Regions from separate parts of the Homo sapiens genome. Here region 1 is linked to region 2. The links are contacts of gene promoters, found by promoter capture Hi-C in human tissues and cell types (Jung and others, 2019). All regions are on one chromosome and are shown on one strand. Each heading gives the region's core, a stretch centred on a gene start or on the middle of the fragment in contact. The rest is flanking DNA. Distances are from core to core; before and after follow the strand shown.

Evidence for each region. The method cuts DNA at HindIII sites, captures the fragments that hold promoters and counts their contacts. A contact is called where the count stands out against the background at its distance.
Region 1: a contact is called between a fragment that was not itself captured here and the fragment with the promoter of RAB18 in region 2, in 1 of the 25 tissues and cell types used here (dorsolateral prefrontal cortex).

Annotation. Positions count from the first base shown.
Region 1 is chr10:28,174,019-28,178,063 of GRCh38, forward strand. The region is part of intron 3 of MPP7 (MAGUK p55 scaffold protein 7); the gene reads right to left. Among named protein-coding and RNA genes, the nearest start is that of SNORD130, 100 kb to the left of the region's middle. The HindIII fragment of the contact is 6,242 bases long and covers 1-4,045 here.
Region 2 is chr10:27,501,657-27,505,698 of GRCh38, forward strand. It overlaps RAB18 (RAB18, member RAS oncogene family), which reads left to right and starts at 2,648. Exons shown (of 7, transcript NM_021252.5): 1 at 2,648-2,781. The coding sequence starts at 2,714. LOC124902399 (a long non-coding RNA gene) reads left to right here and starts at 2,789. Exons shown (of 2, transcript XR_007062097.1): 1 at 2,789-3,068; 2 at 3,323-3,436. RefSeq lists enhancers at 2,344-2,613, 2,724-2,783. The HindIII fragment of the contact is 16,305 bases long and covers 1-4,042 here.

The DNA.
Region 1 (4,045 bases), core at 80-2,579, 670 kb after region 2:
ATGAAGAAGTACTCAACCTCATTAGTCATCTGGGGATCCAAATTTAAAACCAATGAGATACCACTACAGCCCCCAAAGTGGCTTCAAAAACAAAAAGCAAAGACAAGCCCCACCATACCAAGGGCTAGCAAGAATGTGTGTGTGGAACAGCAACGACTGTCATACACTGATCGTGGCAATACAAACCGCAACAATACCCAATTACCCAGTGCTATGGTTTGGATATGGGGAGCCTTTTGGCCCCACTAAGTCTCATGTTGAAATGTTGGAGGTGGGGCCTGTTGGGAGGTGTGTGGGTCATGCGGACAGATCCCTCGTGAATGGTTGGTGCCATTCTCTAGAGAGTGAGTTCTCACTCTTAGCTCCCATGAAAGCTGGTTAATGAAAGGAGCCTGACACCTCTCCTCTCTCTTTCTTGCTCCTTCTCTCACCATAGGACACGCATATGCCAGCTCCGCTTTGCCTTCCACTGAAAGTGGAAGCGTCCTGAGACCCTCATCAAGAGCAGATGTTGGCACCATGCTTCTTGTACGGTCTGCAGAACTGTGAGCCAAACAAATTTTTCTTTATAAATTACTCACCCTCGACTATTCCTTTGTAGCAACACAAAACAAAGATACCCCGCAACTCCATTCTTACATCATACCTTAAGAAAATACATATACAAAGAGTTGAATGAAAATCCTATTTCCCAACATTTCCATTCCTTAGTATATACCCAACAGAAACACATACACATTCAGGCAAAGACCTGTACAGGACTGCTAACAGCAGTGGCATTACCAAAGTGGTCAAAAATCAGAAATGGTAAAAATGTCCATCGACAGTTGAATAGATAAATTGTTCTATGCTTACAGAATAGAATACTGTTTGGTAACAAAAATGAATTAATCTAGTAACAACATAAATGAATCATATAATTTGAGCAAGAGAAGAAAGACACAAACAAAATACATCCTGCATGGTTCCATTTAAAGAAACTTCCAAGAACATGGCTGAGCATGGTGGCTCATGCCATCCCAGCACTTTGGGAGGCCGAGGTGGGCGGATCACTTGAGGTCAGGAGTTTGAGACCAGCCTGGTTTACATGGCAAAACCCCATCTCTACTAAAAATCCATAAATCAGTTGGGCGTGGTGATGCGCACCTATAGTCCCAGCTACCTGGGAGTCTGAGGCATGAGAATCACTTGAACCCAGGGGGCAGAGGGTGCAGTGAGCTGAGATTGCATCATTGCACTCCAGCCTGGGTAACAGAGTGAGATGTCGTCTCAAAAAAAAAAAGGAAAAAAAGAAACTTCCAAGAACAGGCAAACCACCCATAAACTTTAAAGTGAGCCGAGTGATTTACTTAGGAAGTAGAGTTTGAAGTAAAGGAGCAAGAAGATGGGGGAGAGGAGGGTACATTTTGGGGTTCTGCAGGAATTTTTTTAAAATGCCATGAAATAAAAGTATGTGAACATACATGATTAAAAGAACATACTGAATATCTGGGAAAACTGATACTAAACAGTCAACACTGAGAAATATTTTTTAAGAATCAGAAATTTTAAAAAACATTCTTTAAACATCAAGACAAAAACACTTATAAAGGAAAGAAAGTTATATTGACACCATACTTACGAACACTTTATACCAGAAGCTGAAGAAGTATGATACTTAAGATATTCAAAACAAGAAGCTATGAACCAAGGATTTTAACTTTAGACAAACTGATCTTCAACTATTAATGTAAAGACCACAAGAAAAACTTGTAAGAGCTCAGGGAAAATTGCTCCCTGAGCCCTCTCCATGGGAGAGCAACTAGGGGATGAATTTCTGAAATAATCAGAGAAGCTTTTGGATAAGAAATGATAGTTACCATCAATATACTGTATTTAACTAAAGTTAAACAATGGGGCAGAGTAAAAAGTAGAATGCAGCTTTTTTAGAATCTAGCAATGCAGGTCAAATACAACTACCAAAAATTAGGAAGAGAAGGGAAATAATATATGTAAAGTAAATAAGTTCATTGATTACCTTTAATTGGGAGTTTTAAAAAAGTATATAGTAGTTTAAATTAGAAGTTGGGAAGAGCAGGGTAAAGGAATTCCTATTGGTCACTGTTAGGAACCAATACAGTATTTAACAAGAGATTCTAGAATTGAGAATCACTTGAACCCAGGGGGCAGAGGGTGCAGTGAGCTGAGATTGCATCACTGCAATTCTCAATTCTAGAAATCTACCTTAAAATATACAGGGGCAGGAAATGTGTAAAATAAGCCTGAGAGACCCTGTCAGGCCAAAAAGCAAAGAAGCAATCAAAGCCCAGTGCAGTTGGGTCAAAAACAAAACAAAACAAAACAAAACAAAACAAAACACAGGAGTCAACTTGAAGGCACTCCCAATGGCCAAAGCTGGGGTCATTTTAGCATCAAAAAGAATAATAATTGCACTGGCTGGGCATGGTGGCTCACGCCTGTATCCCCAGCACTTTGGGAGGCTGAGGTGGGTGGATCACAAGGCCAGGAGTTTGAGACCAGCCTGACCAACATGGTGAAACCCATCTCTATTAAAAATAAAAATAAAAAATTAGCCAGGTGTCATGGCACATGCCTGTAATCCCAGCTACTAGGGAGGCTGAGGCAGGAGAATTGCTGGAACTCAGGAGGCAAAGGTTGCAGTGAGCTGAGATTGTGCAACTGCACTCCAGCCTGAGCAACAGAGCAAGACTCTGTCTAAAAAAAAAGAAACCATCATTCTGAGCAAACTTTCGCAAGGATAGAAAACCAAACACCACATGTTCTCACTCATAGGTGGGAATTGAACAATGAGAACACTTGGACACAGGACGGGGAACATCACACAGCGGAGCCTGTCGTGGGGTGGGGGGGTGGGGGAGGGATAGCATTAGGAGATATATCTAATGTAAATGATGAGTTAATGGGTGCAGCACACCAACATGGCACATGTATACATACGTAACAAACCTGCACATTGTGCACATGTACCCTAGAACTTAAAGTATAATTTAAAAAAAAAAAAGAAAGAAAAGAAAAAAACAAGAATAATTGCAGTGGACTAAAACTCATCAAATATACAAAAATCTTTGTATTCATACCGATAGTAAAAAGAGTTCTGGCCGGGCGCAGTGGCTCACGCCTGTAATCCCAGCACTTTGGGAGGCCAAGCAGGCAGATCATGAGGTCATGAGTTCGAGACCAGCCTGGCCAACATAGTGAAACCCCAACTCTACTAAAAATGCAAAAAAAAAAAAAAAAAAAAAAAATTAGCCAGGCATGGTGGCGCGGCTGAGGCAGGAGAATCACTTGAAACAAGGAGGCAGAGGTTGTGGTGAGCCAAGATCACGCCACTGCACTCCAGCCTGGGCAACGCAGTGAGACTCCATTTCAAAAAAAAAAAAAAGAGTTCTTACTGATTCACTTTTGGAGGGTGCAAGGGCACCAAAACAACATTGTGAAAATTCGTAGATTAATTGTTCCTATATAAGCTGTATTTCAAAATAACCTAAGAATTGATAAGGAAAAATTGTTCTGTACAATGATAAGAAAATGATTAAATAAACCATAGCATAAGCGGTTGATGGATTACAATAATGCCACTAAAAATTATGATTACAAAGTTTAGTGATTAAAGATACGGATCTCTTCTCTATCCTAAGTTGCACTAAGATGATTTTTCAAATTAAAAATAACAGAAATGAGACAGAAGACTAGAGAGTTCAAAAATTTTTAGAAAAAGGAAGCCACCGCATAGAACCAGACAAAGTGGGGAATTGTTTAAAAGAGACAATTTGACCCAGGGAACACTGTCATGCTGGCGGATCAGGGATGCCAGGCATGCAGGTGCTGAAACCCTAAATACTGTGAGGGGCTCCTTTCCCTTGGCTGATCCAGAATGTCAAGCAGCCAGCCACCTAAGGCCCAGGCAGCAGATTCCAGGTCTCTCTGATGAAAAAACTGAAGAGCCATGGAGAAAAATGGCTCTTTATTCTGGGATTTGCAATCTCTCCTCCTGTAACCAACAGTAGCTGATTTTTCATCCTTT
Region 2 (4,042 bases), core at 1,398-3,897:
AGGTCTGAAAAATTTTGCCTTCAAGGCTCACCTTTACATAAAATTCACTATGGCTGAAACGAAACTCATATTCCTTCTTGTTTCTGTCTTGGGTTTTCTCTCAGATTGGTAGTGCCGAGGCTTGAAACATTAGAGAAATGTTCGATGTTTTTCTTTCCCTTTTCTTTCCCCTCTTCTTCACTAAGCATGGGACAGTTATTCATTGTGTCTTTTAAGTACATCTCTTTATTGCCAGCCCCCATGTGGGGATGTCTTGGCAGTTGTGTATGTTGGCCTGAACCTCAGGAGAAAAATCTCAGCCAGAGATGTAAATTCGGGAGGCCGAGGCAGGGGGATTGCTTGAGCCCAGCAGTTTGAGACCAGCAACATAGCAAGACCCCATCTCTAAAAAAATGTTTTAAAAATTAGTTAGGCGTGGTGATGCATGCCTGCAGTTCCAGCTACTCAAAGGCTGAGGTAGGAGGATTACTTCTTGAGCTCAGAAGTTAGAGACCACCCTGGGCAGCATAGCAATATCCCATCTCTTAAAAAAAAAGAAAAGAAAAGAAAAGAAAAAGAAAGAGAGGAAATGGCCAAGAGATGGAGGAAATCCAAGAGAAAATGATATTGCCAAAGTACGTCAACAGTATTACAGGTTGCAAGAGATAGCCCTGGATTTATTGATGAAGTTTTTGTTTTTGTATTTATCTTGGTGTGAATAGCACAGTGCAATGGTTCTCACACTTTTTGGTTGTACAAATTATAGTATACTCTTAAAAATCATTGAGGACCTGAAAGAGCTTTTGATTGTAAGAACCCCAAAGAGATTACATCTCTTATTTATCCTACTAGAAATTAAAACTGAGAAAATTTCAAACATGTTAATTTACTTAAAAACAATAATAAACCTATTACCAGTTAATAGAAATGTTTATGAAAATAACTACTTTAAAACAGAACAAAATTGAGAACAGTGGCAATGTTTTACATTTTAGGAAATCCCTTTAATATCTGGCTTAATATCATAGAAAACCAGTAAGTTCACATATCTTGTTCTGCCTTCAATCTGTTTTGCTATTACATGTTATTAATATATAGCCTCTGGAAAACTCCATTATATTATCATCAGAGAATGTGCATGAAAAAATAACATATTAACTATGAAAATAGTTTGATCTTGCAACCCCCCTGAAAGGTTTTCAGGGATTTCTAGGGATCTCGGGACCCCAGGGCAGGAGAGCTTGACAATACTGTGAACCTCATAAATAAGATCTTTTTGTCATAATGAAAAGTAAGCTAGATAGACTTGACTGAAGTTTCAAGGGCTATCTGATGAGAAGTGGAGGTTGTTTCATTGACATTATTCTCTAAGGTTAGGAATGGACTCTACAACATTCATTCAATTAATTCATTCAGCATACATTTATTTAGCACATATTATGTGCCATGAAGTACTCTAGATACTGAAGACATACCAGTAGACAAAACAAAATATCCTTGCCTTCATGAGACTTCTAATAAAGTAGTAAAATATATAGTGTATCAGAGAGTGGTTAAATCCTATGCAGAAAAACAATGTAAAGAGGTCTAGAGAATGCTGGAGGGATTTGCATATTTCAGTAGAATGGACAGGGAAGGCCTCTTTAAGAATGCAACATTTGAGCGAAGACCTGAAGGAGGAGAAGCCATTGGGATATCTTTTGAAAGGGCTTTTCCAGCTATTTAACAAATTAATTTCTTAACATTTGAAATTTTATTTATATGTAGTCTTTAATCAAATATCCATTGTATATGACATTAGCTGCAGGTATAAGGAAATAAGACAAGAGAACTGAGGTTTATTGAGTGCCTGCCATGTACCAGGCACTGTGCTAAGTATTATGAATGAGGTTTGGTACCTTCACTAAGATTTACAACTTAATGCAGGAGGCAAGGTGTAGACATACACTTCCTGCAGTATGGGTGTAGCAGTTCTTATGAGGAAGGAGAGTTGACTTGAAGTTGCACCGCCAGAAGTAATGCACCTGACCTACCTGAAGTCTACGCCTCCCTTTCAAGATGAATTAGGGTGCAGAGGGTGCTCTCCACTATAACAGAGGGGAAGCCAGCAAGATAATACCTGATCACACCTTTTATAGAGCACTTTGGTTAACAACATGTCTTCACAAATTAACTCACTTAACCTTCATAACAATAAGAAGCAGATGTTCTAAGAAGTGTTACTGTGTCTCTCAGAGATGGAGAAAGGCTAAGAAAGCTGGGTAGTATGACAAGGCAGTTATAAGGTAGAGCTGGACCTAAATTTAAGATAATCTGCTTCAAGCACAGTGCTTTTCCCACCGCAGTGCAGCTGTTATGAGCAGCTGCCGAAATAAAACAGCTTGATATTCTCCTGACTGAGTCCTCCCACTGACTCAAAAGGAGGGTTAGGTTGAGGCTGGGGCGGAGCTAGACCTCAAGAAGAAGCCAACAAAGTCACACACAGCGCTCCCCACCTGCGCTTGCGCAGGGGAGGAACACGCAGTCCGGAAAAACGCCGGGGATTCTGGGTCGCGCAGCCGTGGAGCTACCTCAAGGCGGAACTGGGGAGTCCAGGGCTTCGGCAGCCTGAACACCCGGTGTGAAAGGAAGGTGGCAGACGTGGAGCGGCGCGCATGCGCAGCAGCTCACTCTGCTGAAGGGCTGAGAGGCGCACCCGGGCGGCCAGCTGGGCTCGGAGCGGAACGGGGTCAGGATGGACGAGGACGTGCTAACCACCCTGAAGATCCTCATCATCGGCGAGAGTGGGGTGGGCAAGTCCAGGTGAGGCGGAGGTGCGGGTCGTGACGAGGGTGGCTGGGCTCTTTCTGCCCCGGTGGCTGCTGTCTCCTGGGCCGCGACGGGAACTGTAAACTGCAGCGGCGGGCTCGGGCCGGCTCCGCTCGCGCCCTCCTCGGCCTCTGGGCCGCGCTCTCCCGCGACGTTTGCTTTCCTCTCCCCACCCGCGCCTGCCTGGTTCCCGGCCTTTGCCAGGCCCAAGTTCTCTGGGTCGCTCTCCCTCCTGTAGCGCCGAGAAAACACCATTCCGAGGGCCGCCGCTCGGCCGGCAGGTTTGCTGCGCGGAGCTCAGGGCGTGGCGGGCTGGTTTGGGCCCGAATCCGGCCGGGGGCGCCTTGCCTCGAACCTCTCGGGGTTCAGGCTGCCTGCCACCCCGAGACCCGGGAGACATAGCTTTCCCACTTGAGGGTTTCTGTGGGGCCTTCTCTAAATACATAATGTCCTCGGGAAGTTTCGTGACGCCTTAGGTCCCATTCCTGGCCTGTTTGGGCGCAGCTTAATGTCGATTCTTTTACTTTTTTATTAGTCGGCTGTGAAAGAACTGGATCTTGTGACTGCTGGAAAATTTCGCTTTAGTGTAAGGTCCGAGTGCTTCAGCCGTGGGCCACCTTTGAAAATAAAATGTAATTGTTATTTCTCATTTTGCCACATCCTGTGGAGACAGAAGATTAGTGTTGTGCTTTCATTTTTTACTTTTTCCTTGGGGAAAATAATATTGACAGTGGAGTTGAGTATAAGGTAAGACATGGATCTAGGTGGATGTTGCTAGAGGGCTGTGATTTCATCCAGGTCTTGGAAGAGAGTTCTCCAGCTGATGTCATTCTTGCCATCTGATTATGAGTAGGTTATGTTCAAGGCCGTCCTGATCCTTAAACCACATTTGCACTCCAGGGGCTGTAATCAGTTTCATATTTTAGCTATACCTTCTGATACACGTATCTTTCAAATAATTTTTTGTATTTCATAAATTGAAATAGCCTTAATTCTACAAACTAGAATGAAAGCTCTCCTCAAATAACTTGTAAAAGTCACTTCATAAAGTCTTACTTTTTAAAAGCTTCTTCAGAATTTGAAAGCTTATGTAATATATTCTGATATTATTTACTTATTTATTTATTTATTTTTTGAGACGGAGTCTCGCTCTGTTGCCAGGCTGGAGTGCAGTGGCGCGATCTCGGGTCACTGCAACCTCCGCCTCCCGGGTTCAAGCGATTCTCCTGCTTCAGCCTCCCGAGTAGCTGGGACT